Linked DNA regions of Homo sapiens: region 2 is linked to region 1. The links are contacts of gene promoters, found by promoter capture Hi-C in blood cells and fetal thymus (Javierre and others, 2016). All regions are on one chromosome and are shown on one strand. The core of a region is centred on a gene start or on the middle of the fragment in contact, and the rest is flanking DNA. Distances in the headings are between cores, read along the strand shown. Region 1 holds the start of MRPL19 (mitochondrial ribosomal protein L19). Region 2 overlaps TPRKB (TP53RK binding protein).

The links. The method cuts DNA at HindIII sites, captures the fragments that hold promoters and counts their contacts. A CHiCAGO score of 5 or more calls a contact.
Region 2: a contact is called between a fragment that was not itself captured here and the fragment with the promoter of MRPL19 in region 1, in 1 of 17 cell types (activated CD4 T cells). The highest score is 5.2, in activated CD4 T cells.

Annotation. Positions count from the first base shown.
Region 1 is chr2:75,641,791-75,649,423 of GRCh38, forward strand. It overlaps MRPL19 (mitochondrial ribosomal protein L19), which reads left to right and starts at 4,993. Exons shown (of 6, transcript NM_014763.4): 1 at 4,993-5,120; 2 at 5,312-5,429. The coding sequence starts at 5,018. RefSeq lists enhancers at 4,793-5,087, 4,923-5,222. The HindIII fragment of the contact is 2,636 bases long and covers 4,805-7,440 here.
Region 2 is chr2:73,729,074-73,736,706 of GRCh38, forward strand. TPRKB (TP53RK binding protein) reads right to left here. Exons shown (of 5, transcript NM_016058.5): 2 at 5,356-5,518; 3 at 3,090-3,212; 4 at 1,487-1,663; 5 at 800-956. The coding sequence starts at 5,496. The coding sequence ends at 870. Among named protein-coding and RNA genes, the nearest start is that of TPRKB, 4.5 kb to the right of the region's middle. The HindIII fragment of the contact is 4,504 bases long and covers 2,027-6,530 here.

The DNA of each region.
Region 1 (7,633 bases), core at 3,743-6,242:
CTGCTTGCCAGCTCATTCCTGTGGCAAGAAGCAGCCTTGCTGGCTGTTGGCTGGGGACATTGGTTCCTTGCCATATGGACCTTTCCATAGGGCAGCTCATAACAGGTACCTGGCTTCCCTCAGAGTGAAGCAAAGGAAGTAAGAACTATCATAGTCAGTGCATTTGTGTTTTTATTTTATTTTTTTAAATTTATTTATTTTTTCGAGATGGAGTCTTGCTCTGTCGCCCAGGCTGGCATGCTAGTGGCGCGATCTCGGCTCACTGCCACCTCCGCCTCCTAGGTTCAAGTGATTCTCCTGCCTCAGCCTCCTAAGTAGCTGGGATTACAGGTACGCCACCATGCCCTGCTAATTTTTGTATTTTTAGTAGAGACGGGGTTTCACCATGTTGGTCAGGCTGGTCTCAAACTCCTGACCTTGTGATCTGCCTGCCTCGGCCTCCCAAAGTGCTGGGATTACAGGTGTGAGCCACCACGCTCAGCTGTGTTTTTAAAATAGTGTATTGATTTTCATTGTAAAACCAAAATGTACCTATTACAGAAAATGTAGCTAGAAAAATTGCAAAAGCAGGGAACACGCTTAATCTCACCACTCCATCTATGCTTTGTGATACTTAATCATAAATTCTATGTCTAGGTGAATGTCCAGAAGAGTATGCCCTAGGCTTTATTCTAGGATTTTTGTAGTTTGAGGTCGTACATGTAAGTCTTTAACTCATTTGGAGTTAATTTTTGTATGTGGTGAGAGGTAGTGGTCTAGTTTCATTCTTTGGCATATGGTCAGCCAGTTTTCCCAGCACCGTTTATCGAATAGGATGTCATCTCCCCACTGCTAATTTTTGTAGACTGTTGAAGATTAGTTGGTTGTAGGTATGCGGCTTTATTTGTAGGTTCTCTATTGTGTTCCATTGGTCTGTTTGTTTCTTTTTGTACCAGTACCATGCTGTTTTGGATACTGTAGCCTTGTAGTATAGTGTGAAGTCAGATCATGTCATTCCTCCTGCTTTACTCTTTTTGCTTAGGATTGCTTTGGCTATTTGGACTCTTTTTGGTTCCACATGAATTTTAGAATTGTTTTTTTTTCTAGTTCTGTGAAAAATGATAGTAATTTAATAGGAATGTCGTTGAATATGTAAATTGCTTTGAGCAATATGGACATTTTAGTGACATTGATTCTTCCAATCCATGAGCATGGGATGTTTTTCCATTTGTTTGTGTCATCTATAATTTATTTCAGCAGTGTTTTGTAGTTCTTGTTGTAGAGATTTCATCTCCTTGATTAGGTGTATTCCTAGGTATTTTATGTTTTTGGTGGCTATTGTAAATGGGACTGCATTCTTGATTTGGTTCTCAGCTTGAACACTGTTGGTGAATAGACATACTACTGATTTTTGCATATTAATTTTGTATCCTGAAACTTTACTGAAGTTGTTTATCAGGTCTAGGCGTCTTTTGGTAGCATCTTTACGGTTTTCTAGGAATAGGAGATTCTTTTTTTGGATGTGTTAATACATGAATCAGATTATAGTTTCCTCTTGCTGGCATCTTTAAAATAAGTTTTACAAAAAGCTTTTTTTTTTAATTAGGTGAAGGATATGTTAATTAGCTAAACTGTGATAATCATTTCACATTGCATACATATATCAAATCATCATGTTGTACACCTTAAATATATACAAATTTTTATCTTTCAATCATGTCTCAGTAAAGTTGGAAAAAAAGAATTTTATTATGATCTATACATTTATCTGCAAACTTTATGCATTATCACAATTTAATCCTTATACCAACCCAATGAGGTAGGCATACCTCTATCCTATTACCCATGAAGAAGAAAAGGCAGAGATGGGAACCTCTCTCAAAGACTCCAGTTAGTACATTTCAGAAATTTTTTTTACTGACTCTACCTCACAAATAGATGGAGAGACAGAAAAAAAAATACCACTTTCTATCTCTATTGCCTCTACCTCAATTGTTCCCAAATTGGAACAACTATCAGAATCACCGGAGGATTTGCTAAAGCACAGATCACTGGGTTCTGTGCCCAGAGTTTTAAATTCAGTAAGTCTGGGGGCGGGACCTGAGAATTTGTAATTTTAACACGTTCCCTGGTTGTGCTGATGTTGCTAGTCAAGGGCTCACACTTTAAGAACCATTTTTTTTTTTTCTGTTCCAGGTTAGCACCATCTCTCTTTTGGAATATTTCAATAATTTCCTGCTTCCCAGCCATTTTCTAAAGTACAATCAGAATGATCTATCTAATTTTACTTAGAAATATTTATTGGGTGCCAGATACTCTACTAAATATAGAGGATGTAATAACAAGCAAAACCGACAAGGATCCTGATGTCACAATAACCTGAAGCAGCCAGTTTGCCTGGAATACTTTCTTCCCTTGGCTGAACATTATGTAATGATGTTCATGATCTCCTTTCCAAGGGTGTAAAACACAGAAGTAAATAATTAAAGTTCTATTCCTGTGATCAGCTCATAAAATGGTTGAGCCAGCTCTGTGCTCTTTGATTTTGCTCTATGAAGTTGTTTAATAACAACTTAAGTTGGAATAATTTAAACTCCAGCTTGTTCTCCAAATTAAGATAAGGTCAAAACGGCCTGATATATGTTGGATGAGCAAGAATACGGGAGAAAATTAGATAAGATTCTTTAGGTTCATTCTTCCAATTTTGTAAAACTCTACACAACTATTCCTTCATCTGTGGAAGAGGAGAGGGCAGCAGGAGTGGCTTGGCAATGTCTAGTAAATCCTGCTGTCCTCCTGTGAAGGTCTGTCTTTTATTTCTCTGCCCCTACCTTTAGGACCAATCCCAGCAAGAGTGAAGGCCACGTGTTCTGGGCATGGTTAATACAGAAAAATCTTCACCACTGCCAGTCATGATTATCTTTGCCTCTCCTCCCTTTTACTCTTAAGGGCTTGAAGTCTACTTTTTCGGGTAGGTAGAAGAGCCAAAATATTGCTCATCTGAAATTTTGGTTGTGAGATTCCTTGTCATTTATAGAATAAATTCTTGTTCTAATCAAAGAAGCTAGAGTTAAAATAGAAGGCCCTGTCTTTCTTCACAGCATCTTGAATTCTGTGCTCAAAACATGGCCCTGTTCCTCAGGCTGATGTAACAGCTCATGTTCTTCAGGATGGCAAGTCAGAGTATAGAGGCCAAGCTGCAGAGGTTGGTTGCTTTTATGAGCATTTGACTTCTGTCAAAAGTAAACAGTAAGGCTTTAAACTGGGGAAAGGAAAGAACAGGGTATGCATTTCTGAGCCATCTTTTTTTGGTTGCTGCGTGAAGGACTGGAGGTAACCAGAGGCAAGAAGACTAATGAGAAGGCTGTTGCAGGGATCTCCAGGGATCCTGAAGAGAGAAAATATGTTGACCTAGATTGGAAATATGGATGGGAGGATGAGAAAGTATATGGATTCCTGAGATATTTGACGGTGTCAGGCATAGTTTTTGGAACTTCATCCAGGAGGAGACAGGGAGGAATCAAGAATGGCACTGAGATTTTTGGCTTAGGCAAGAGAGTGGATGCTGAAGCCATTCCTTGAGATAGCCAATACTGGGAAGGAAGTCTGGAGCTGAAAAAGATGAACTCAGTATGGATAGGCTGAATTTGAGGTAGCTTTGGGACATTAATGCAACTGGAATGACTATTATGTAGTTAAATTATCACATTACTCTAAGTGTTCAATCCTTATATAACCACTGCTGAAATAACAAATTCCAAATTTCTTTTTTTGTGTGTGTTTCTTTTTCTGTTTTTTTGAGACGGAGTTTCGCTCTTGTTGCAATGGCGCGATCTCGGCTCACTGCAACCTCTGTCTCCCAGGTTCAAGCGATTCTCCTGCCTTAGCCTCCCAAGTAGCTGGGATTACAGGAGCCTGCCACCACACCTGGATCATTTTTTTTATTTTTGGTAGAAACGGGGTTTCACTATGTTGGCCAGGCTAGTCTCAAACTCCTGACCTCAGGCGATCTGCCCGCCTCGGCCTCCCAAAATGCTGGGGTTAAAGGCGTGAGCCACTGCGCCCGGCTGTGTGTTTGTTTCTTAGAGATACGGTCTCACTATATTGCCCAGGCTGGTTTCCAACTCATGAGCTCAAGGGACCCTCCTGTCTCGGCCTCCCACAGTGCTGGGATTACAGGCATGCCTGGCCACGCCCAGTCATTTTCCAAATTTCTTAACAAGACTTACAATTTACCTTTTCCAGCTTTACTTCTCCCACCTATCCATACCCACAGTTGCCCAGCCCAAATTCATTTGGGTTCCTCAAAGGGTTAATGCTTTGTGTAGTCTCAAGGACTATGGGCCAGCAGTTCTGTCAGGAACTATTCTATTCTCTTTTCTGTGCATTCAGCAAAGAATTAGAAAAATTAGCTGGGCGTGATGGTGCGAGACTGTAGTCTTGGCTACTCGGGAGGCTGAGGTGAGAGGATCTCCTGACATCAGGAGTTGGAGGCTGCAGAGCCATGATCGCGCCACTGCACTCCAGCCTGGGTAACAGAGGAAGACCTTGTCTCAACAAAACAAAAGATGTTAGTGAGGGCCCAGGTAGGTGCTAGGTGCTGGGATAACATGGTGAGCAAAAAGAAGACTTTATCCCTTCCCTTGCCTCATTATAGTATAATGGCAGATTTAAATACTAATCTAATAATTACACAAGAAAGAATTGCAAATGAGATCAGAGCTGCCAATCGAAGGCACCCAGTGGGAAAGACGGCCTACAATGGGATTTTCGCATAGCGAAAGCTTGTCTGAGAAGATAGAGTGGATTCATAGGGGGAGGAAAAAGCTTTCTAGGCTGGGAGAACACCCCTGTGGAGGGGTGTAACTTGGCGCATTACGAGGAACTAGAGAAACGTGCACTTTTCCTAAGACATCAGGAAAGGAGCGAGGAGAGACTTATCCATTTTGTCCCATAGCAGCCGCCATATGGTGGCAGACAGCAACAACCTCGTCGCACTGATTACTGGGAGCTGTAGTCTTGACGTGAGCTAGCTGGCATGGCGGCCTGCATTGCAGCGGGGCACTGGGCTGCAATGGGCCTAGGCCGGAGTTTCCAAGCCGCCAGGACTCTGCTCCCCCCGCCGGCCTCTATCGCCTGCAGTAAGTGGAGCCGGACTTGCGAGCTGGGGCGCGTTAGGGGCCCAGGGTCAGGATGGGGGAGGCGAACCTGGAGATCAGAGGCAACCCCAGCGTTGGTCCCCCGTGGGACGCCGGGTTGGGGGAGATTGCGGGGCTCTGCGGGATCTCAGGGTTGGCACGAGAGTTCTGACCTCCGTCGTCCGCTCCCGCAGGGGTCCACGCGGGGCCTGTCCGGCAGCAGAGCACTGGGCCTTCCGAGCCCGGTGCGTTCCAACCGCCGCCGAAACCGGTCATCGTGGACAAGCACCGCCCCGTGGAACCGGAACGCAGGTGAGGCACTGCCCTGGCGCTAGGCCGGCAACTGGGGTCGGTGCGCGCGTGAGCGCGTTCGCGTTCGAGGTCCCGGCTCTAAGGTGGGGGCTGCACCTCCCCCTGCACGAGCAGGTGTGTAGGATTCAAGAGCCAGCGCACCACACTGTTCTTTCTTTCTCACTTCTCCCCAAGCCAGCATTGAACTTCTTTGCAGTTTTATTGAGTCAGAACTTCAAGTAGGGGTTCCCCATATTTTAAACTCTTTTCTCTGTGGTATTTGTCCTGTACCAGAGTTTTTCTCTGAGGTATATCCTGTTTATACCTGTTTACGTCCAAGAGCTCTTCTTTTCTCTCAAAAGACCCTTAACCCTGGATAGGAATCGATTGGCCAACTTAAAAAATTTGCTATGGTTTAGGTTGGAAGTTTTGGCAGACAAAGCACAGTAAAACTGGCCACTAAATTGTGTCTGAAACTTACTCATCAAAATAGTGTGAATAAAAACTTATATGAATGGTGGTAATCTTGGAGGTACATGTAAATTTAAAGGACTTAAGGTCTGAAAAGAGAGCTATGTAGCAACCTTTTTAAAAAGCCAGTTTTCAGAGGAAAAACCTGATATGATTATAGGCTTTTTGAAAGGGCTGTAGATTATTGATTGGATTACTTCTGGGATTTTTAATTTTTTTATTTTTTAAATTTTTTTTAGACAGAGTCTCTCTCAGTCTCCCAGGCTGGAGTGCAGTGGTGATTTTAGCTCACTGCAGCCTCAAATTTCTGGGCTCAAGTGATCCTCCCGCCTCAGGCTCCAGAGTAGCTGGAACTACTGGTACCACGCCTGGCTTTTTTTTTTCTTTTCTTTTTTTAACATTTAAAATATTCCACGGATTTAAATAGAAGTAAACTTGGAGTTAGAGAACTAAGAGATTCAGAAAATATTTCTTCATAAAACTTTGCTTTTGAGGGTAGAAATGGAATATCTCTTTTAAACAGTGGCATTTAATAGAATTCACTTAAATAGGAATGTAAATTATATGCTCTAGAGAACAATTTGACAGAATTTACTAAGTTTAAGTTGTGTATACCTTCTCACTCAGAAAGCACACAACTTAAACTCCTAACGTGTATGTACAAGGAGACAAGCACGAGAATGAATGTAACAGTATTTTTTGTAACAAAATTTAGAGGCAGCCTAGATATCCATCAGTAGGTGAACAGGCAAATACATTCATATGACAGAATATTGTATAGCAGTGAAAAATGAGTGAATTAGAGCTCACTTTTAAACATGGAAGATTTTCACAAATCTGTGTGTAAAAAAAACCTTTAGAATCATTAATGTAGTAGGATGCTATTTTTATGAAGTTTTAAAACTATAGGCCGGGTGCGGTGGCTCACGACTGTTATCCCAGCACTTTGGGAGGCCGAGGAGGGCAGATCACGAAGTCAGGAGTTCGAGACCAGCCTGGCCAACATGGCGAAACCCCCATTTCTACTAAAAGTACAAAAAAAAAAAAAAATTAGCCAGGTGTGGTGGCATGTGCCTATAATCCCAGTTACTCGAGAGGCTGAGGCAGAAGAATTGCTTGAACACAGGATGCCGAGGTTGCAGTGAGCCGAGATCGTGCCACTGCACTCCAGCCTGGGCGATAGAGCAAGACTCTGTCTCAGAAAAAAACAAAAACAAAATTATACGAAACAATATATGTTGCCCAGACATACATGCATATGAAAAGTAAAAAGAAATGTAAGGGGGGCCTTCTGAAACTTTGCCAAACAGTCAAACCTAACTTTACCAGTATTGGTACCAGTTGATATTATGTGTCTCCTGATGTGACAGAATAAGTTGTTCACATCATCTCCCTGTAATATTCTTACTAAAATTATTTAACCTTAGTCTAGGCATGTGGAAACAATCCAGAATCCAGAGATGAGATAGTAGGCCTTGACTGTTCAAAAAAGTTAATGTTATAAAAATACAAAGTTGGAAAAAAGTCCTAGTCTGAGAGACTAATGACCAAATATGTGTGAAGCTTGATTGTATTTTGAATTGGGCAACGAATAGATGTAAAATACCTTCCCAGGATAATGACATACATTTGAGTATGAACTCTGTATTAGACCAAGCTTGTCCAACCCACAGCCCAGGACAGCTTTAAATGTGGCCCAACACAAATCTGTAAACTTTCTTAAAACATATGAGATTTTTTTTGTGCCTTTTTTT
Region 2 (7,633 bases), core at 3,029-5,528, 1.9 Mb before region 1:
CCAGGATCCAGAGGCTTGCGAAGGGTGAGCTGGAGTAGCCATGGTAAGTATGGAGAGGGAGGTGAACTGAGGATATAAAATCACCAAGGCAAAAAATTTAAAAACAGAAACAATAACCAGCTGGGCTCAGTGGCTCATGCCTGTAATTCCAGCGCTTTGGGAGGCGCAGCAGAAGCATCACTTGAGTCCAGGATTTTGAGACCAATCTGGGCAACATAGTGAGACCACATCTCTACAAAAAAAAAAAAAAAAATCACTAAGGCAAGAACCTAGTACACTGTAGGCATTCCATAAGTGTTTGCAATTTTTATTCTAATTATATAAAAATAAAATATATTTGAATAGAAACAGAACTCTAGAAGGCAATAACAAGTAATAGTAACTGATTATCTTTTAAAATACAACGAGGTAGGACTACAAGTGGTTTTTTTGTTTTTTTTTTTTTTGGTTTTTTTTTTTGAGACGGAGTCTCGCTCAGCTGCCCAGGCTGGAGTGCTATGGCACGATCTCAGCTCACTGCAACCTGTGCCTCCCAGGTTCATGCGATTCTCCTGTCTCAGCCTCCCGAATAGCTGGGATTACAGGCACCTGCCATCATGCCCAGCTAATTTTTGTATTTTAGTAGAGATGGGGTTTCACCATGTTAGCCAGGCTGGTCTTGAACTCCTGACCTCAGGTGATCCACCTGCCTTGGCCTCCCAAATTGCTGGGATTTCAGGCGTGAGCCACCGTGCCTGGCCTTTTTTTTTTTTTTTTAATACCATTCTGTGATTTAAACTTTTCTATAATGCACAATTAGTTTTATAGTCAGGAAAGGAAAATCAATGTTTTCTTTAATGCTGAGAATTTTTGTTAATATTTCTGACATTTCATAAAACATCTTTTGTTGACATTCTACAAATGATAGCATCCAATAATGTCCCAATACTTTCTTCTTGTGAAGAGAGTTTATATATCTGTAAAAATGAAAGACAAATTATGACTTGCTGATATCGTCATTCACTACTAATTGTCATTATACAAACATGTGTAAGTGAAATTATTCCTCATTCAATTATTGGGTTCATGGTATAACAAACAACAAATGTGATTAAAATATTCAAAGTAGAGGGCAATTCATTACTTGTATCCCCTTTAAATTGCTGCTATGGGAGTAACTCTCAAGAACATAAAAACCAAATTTCTATCCATTTTAAAAGCATACTAAATTTATTTTACATTTTAAATATACTATGTAAGTTTGATATTTAAAGGTATTCTCTTTCTTAATGTGGAGAATGGTTATGTCAGCTGAGTTTGTAATTATATTTTACATAAACCATCACACCTCCCAGTTCTTTGTATCTGTAATTTTTAAGTAATTTTTAAAATTAGATTAACTTTCTCAAAAGTTCAAAAAACAAGGAGCTCTGGTGATCAATAGGCAAACGGCATCAGCATTATTGCTCATCTATCACACTCTTTCTAAAAATATGGACTGGCAAACCTTTTTGACTTCTGTAATATTCATTATTTCAGGAAGATTTTTCAGAGAAACCTGATGACCTTCTACTTGAGATATTAGGTATTCTTGATTTATTTGTTTTTCTCCCTCTTCAATGTAAACAATTAGAATTGAAGTGTCATTTGCTGAGATACCAAATTTTTTCAAAGCCTCTGAAATCTAAGAGAAAAAAAATGAAAAAAAAAACACAAGATCATTAACCATTGTTTCCTACGTCTGAAACATTTCCTGATCTGCCTTCTTCCTTGGTCAGGCTCTTATTTTTCATGTCCTAACAGTTCTCACTGCCTACTTTTTCACTTTAATGATTCCTTTCCAACATCCATTGGCACTTCCTCAAAAGCACTCCCTGCTTAAAGGTACGCCTTGTTCCTATGGAATCAAGCCCAGCCTCTTGGCGCTGCACAAAAACACCTCCTCCCTCTGGTGCCAAGTGGCCCTCCAGCCAGGCGCTTCTGCCTTCTGGCCAGTCCAGCCTGCCTGGGGATCCAGTCACATTTCATGCCCTTCTGCCTGTGCTCAAGCTTTGTCCTCTGCTCGCATGTCCCTTCTCCTCATGGCTTGGCTGCTGAACACATGCTTCAGGGTCCACAGTTCTGATGCCACTCCCCACCACACCCTCCTCCCTCCAAAATGAATGGCTTCATTGCTGTACCCCTAGATTTGAATTCATTTTCCCATTATATCATTTATCTTAGGGCATTTTAACTTGTCTTGTTTATCTGCCTCTCCTCAGGAACATATTTGCCTCTTCTGCCCCTAGAACTGTAAATGGAACGGGGAAAAAGTTCAACAGATGTTTACTGAATTCAAGAGTTTTCTGAATTATGTCTAATGATCTCAAGGAAACCATAATTAGTAAATTTTATTCCAGGTACTGGGAATCTCTATTACCATGCTGAGATAACTGCATTTTATAAACTTGTCAATCATCTGTATTTTAACCTATGCTACAGGTTTCCTGTAGATGACATTAGTACCTGGTTGTTATTAACAGCAGCAGTAATACTAAAACTTCATCAGCAAAATTGCAGTCATTTTTTTCATGTGCTACATGTGTGATGTCTTTAGCTTGATAACTTTCATTGAAAAAGCATTACTATAAGTATTTCAAACCACAAACTCTACCTATGTACTGGGTGTGTGAGTGAGGCTGTGTTAAGGACTGTTATAGGTACAAGCAAGTTCCTGGTATATGAAAAAGACATGGATCCCACCCTCAAGGAGTTTACGGGAAGAGAGAATGATATGCAGGCTAGCACACAAAATATCCACGCCTAATGTTTTATCATTTAGATTTCTGTCAGCTTCTCAAGCAAAAATACTTGAGGGGTCTTCCTGACCCTATATGGTAAGAACAGATAAAATTAACCTCGCTTAATTTAGCTAAATTTTTGTTTACTCATATGTAAACTGTCTTAGTAAGAGGCAGGGTTAAACCTCAACTCTCTGTCCAGAGCTCTCTTCACTATTATTTGGGTTTATTACTAACCACTGGCTTGCAGGAATTTAGCCTCCAACCCAACACTGAGGAACACATATGTTATTATGACACGGTCAACAGAAATAGGAAAGTGCACATTACATTGTTATTTGGGGAAAGGTTGAAAATAATTTCAGTAGATAGAGTTCTTGTCTTCATTTTTCCCAGTTTGTAGAGGTGAACTGCTTTGTTTGCTGCCACAAGTATCTGAAATGGATCAACAATCTACCAAAGCAAGGAAAAAGAATTAATTACACATGGAGAATCTGCAGTGCCTGAAAACACATGGTAACTCATGGTTAACTCCAGTGTCAAGCTGTTTTACTTCATCACAATTCTTACGGTCTGTATTTTCAAAACTATTATCCCGGCTGGGCACGGTGGCTCACACCTGTAATCCTAGCACTTTGGGAGGCCAAGGTGGGTAGATCACCTGACGTCAGGGTTCAAGACCAGCCTGGCCAACACGGCGAAACCCTCTCTACTAAAAATACAAAAATTAGTCAGGCGTGGTGGCACGCACCTGTAATCCCAGCAACTCAGGAGGCTGAGGCAGGACAATTGCTTGAACCCGGGAGGCAGAGGTTGCCGTGAGCCAAGATCGCGCCATTGCACTCCAGCCTGGGCAACAAGAGTGAAACTGTCTCAAAAAAAAAAAAAACAAAAAACAACTATTATCCCAAGGGCCTGGGTAGTCAGGAAATCACAGAATTTTAAAGCTGCAAGGAACTTATGCAAATAGTAAAATTTTTTTAAATAACATTAATTGAGGGCTAATATTATGGGCATGATCATATTGCAAACATTTTACTTGTAATATTTTCTTTAATCCTCAAAACTACCCTATGAAATTGACACTATTATTAGTAGTAGTAGCAGTAGTAGTAGTATGTAATTGATGAGGAAATTGAGGCAAAGAATGTCTGGGTTTGAATCCCATCTCTGTCACCTATCACCTAGGAAACTTATGCAAGTTCATTAGCATTTTATTTGTTAGAGACCGATGAAACAGTATTCACTCCATAGGCTGTTGTGAAGATTAAGCAAGTTAGTATACGTAAAGCACTTGGAACAATGCTAGGAATGCAGTAAGCACTATATAAAGGTTGGTTATGTCTTGTTCAAAGGCCTAAGTAGTAGGTCTGGGATTAATTCCCGGTAACATGATCGCACTGCGTGTGCCCTGTTTTTTTGTTTTTTTTTTTTTTTGGAGACAGACAGAGTCTCTCGCTCCATTGCCCAGGCTGGAATGCAGTGGCTCAATCTCAATTCACTGTAACCTCCGCCTCCCAGGTTCAAATGATTCTTGTGCCTCAGCCTCCCGAGTAGCTGGGACTACCAGCACACACCACCACACCCAGCTACTTTTTGTATTTTTAGTAGAGACACGGTTTCACTATGTAGGCCAGGCTGGTCTCAAACTCCGGGCCTCAAGCAATCCACCCACCTTGGCCTCTGTGTGTACTCTTAACCACTACACTATTCCTCCTCTACAGACTGTCTTGTTAGGAACCCCCATTTTAAAGATGAGAAGCTGGAGATCCAGGCATTTCCCATATTAGACCCAGACCACAACCTTTCCTATTTCCTAGGGCAGGACCTGGCACTTCTGCCTCTATTCACTGTTATAGTCAAAGTTGGCTGCATCTGACTTGGACAAGAATTTTTTCCCTAACCGTGACAGATTTTTAGGCTACCCTATAACATCACAAATATTAATGTATACTTAAATGCCCTGTATGGCTCATTCATTCTTTTTTTTTTTTTTTTTTTTTGAGGCGGATTCTTGGTCTGTTGCCCAGGCTGGAGTGCAGTGGCACAATCTCGGCTCACTGCAACCTCTGCCTCCCAGGCTCAAGCGATTCTCCTGCCTCAGTCTCCTGAGTACAGGTGCCCACCACCATGCTCAGCTAATTTTTGTATTTTTAGTAGAGACAGGGTTTCACCATATTGGCCAGGCTGGTCTCAAACTCCTGACCTCATGATCTGCCTGCCTCGGCCTCCCAAAGGGCTGGGATTACAGGCGTGAGCTACCATGCCTGGCCATTTTTTTTTTCCAGACAGAGTTTTGCTCGTCGCCCAGGCTGGAGTGCAATGGCGCAATCTTGGCTCACTGCAACCTCTGCCTCCAGGGTTCAAATGATTTTCCTGCCTCAGCCTCCCGAGTAGCTGGGATTATAGGCGCCCGCCACCACGCCCAGCTAATTTTTGTATTTTTAGTTGAGACAGGGTTTCACCATGTTGGCCAGGCTGGTCTTCAACTCCTGACCTCAGATGATCCACCCGCCTCGGCCTCCTAAAGTGCTGGCATTACAGGCGTGAGCCACCGCACCCAGCAGGCTCATTCATTCTTAAAATTTATATTTACCACTGTAGGATTTATCAGTGATCCATCGATGGTGCCTTCCATGGCCTTTCTTCTCAAGTCTCCCGCATTTTTTACATCTTTAAATAACAGAAGGGTTACCCTGCATTCGGGAAATAGGTCCAGCTGATGTGTTAACTGCATTTCACAGATAAGCAGGATTCTACTGCACACAAAATGAAAAGACCAAAAGATTTCATTTAAAAGTTAACATCAGAACTCATTTCTTAATAAATATTCAAAAACTTTGAAAGTAACTTGATAAAAGTGTTAAACTAGAAAAATCCATCGCCAAAGCCCATTTGGCATCCTCATGAGATGTTGTCTTCCTAACCCTTCTGAGTTGTTCTGTTGTCATCCCCAGGGAAACGCCAAGGGGCCCAGCTGGTTGCTGTTTGTTCAGATGAGGCAGGCTCAGGTGCATGGTTGAAGGGCTGCTTCCCCAGCAGACAAGTAGGAGCAGAATGTCAGGAATTTTTTAAACCAGAGGTTGCTTACGGTATTAATGAAGTCTTACTCTATCTTAGTCTTTTTAACTTCCTGATCTCATCATTTTATTTATATTTTAGGAAGGCCTAGACATAAATATTAAGGAAGAAAATAATTTTAAAGAATAAAGTAGGCTGGGTGCAGTGGCTCATGCCTGTAATCTCAGCACTCTGGGAGGCCGAGGCGAGCAGATCACCTGAGGTTGGGAGTTCGAGACCAGCCTGACCAACATGGAGAAACCCCGTCTCTACTAAAAATGCCAAAAAAATTAGCCAGGCATGGTGGCGCATGCCTGTAATCCCAGCTACTCAGGAGGCTGAGGCAGAAGAATCGCTTGAACCTGGGAGGCAGAGGTTGCAGTGAGCCGAGATCATACCATTGCACCCCAGCCTGGGCAACAAGAGTGAAACTCCGTCTCAAAAAAAAAAAAGAATAGGGGGAAGGGATAGCATTAGGAGATATACCTAATGTAAACGATGAGTTAATGGGTGCAGCATACAAACATGGCACATGTATACAGATGTAACAAACCTGCACGTTGTGCACATGTACCCTAGAACTTAAAGTATAAAAATAAAAAAAAAGGATAAAGTATCCCACTTGACCCAAAGATATTCATTCCACGCATGGAAATTAAGCAGAGAGGGTACAATTATTAAATAATCAATGTCGCTCCTTTCTTGGACATAAGCTTAACAAGAAAAGGATAGGTTATTATATATAAAGACATAAAAGAAACATAAAAGACAACTTGAATAACCAGAAAGACATGACCATATCTTTGAATGGAAAAACTATGTATTGCAAAAATTTCTTTAAAACAATTTCTATCAAATTCTTAATAAAATATTTTGGTGGGGCAATTTGAGACTCATTTTATCCTTTTACCTGGCAGATTATATTTCTAGAACTCTTTCTGATGGAAGTCATTAGGAATCCAATAATTATATAAGATGTTCCTCTCATTATTTTAACAGTAAAAAGTTGCAAATAACCTATCTAGCTAATGATGGGATTAGTTGTTATTTAACAACCATTAAAACATGTGGTCTTGACGGTGTGTAAAAACGGCAATAAATAACATTAAGTAAGTAAAAACATCTGAATGGAAAACAAAACACAAACTGGCCAAAATGTGGGTTTTTTAAAAGGCTTTTAAACAAATATTAAAAAGAAAATACACCAAAAAGTTAATGTTATCTCTTATTTAGAATTAATTTGACTTTTTCTGTTACAAACAGAAAAAAATATATTTGTGAACGATATCCTGGCACACAGTTCAATCATTAGTCATGCTAAGGTGGAAAAAATGGATACAGAAAGACATAATCAGTAGGATCCCAATTATATAAAAAGATACACATATTTTTTTAAAATACATGAAAGAAACACTAAAATATGACCATCTTGGGTAGTGAGGTTATGAGGTGATTTTTATTGTCCTTTATATAAAAGAAAATATTTTGTTATGTATGTTCTGAATTTTCTACAGTAAGCACACAAAACATGAGTACACATAATAAGAAAGGAAAAAAACGTGCTTTTTAACACTGAGTGGGGGGAAGAACCCTTAGAAAACTTCAAAATAGTTTGTTCTTGTTTAGCGTAATTTACTCACTCAGGTCAGAAACTTGGAATCATCGTTGAGACCCAACCTGTCACTCAAATCCTATATCTAATCCGTAAAGTCCTGAATTTTCACCTGCTAAATATACTTTTGATTCGTCCACTTCTCTCCCATACGCTAGGTCACATCGCTCATCTACAGCAGTAGCCTTCTGAGTGGTTTCTC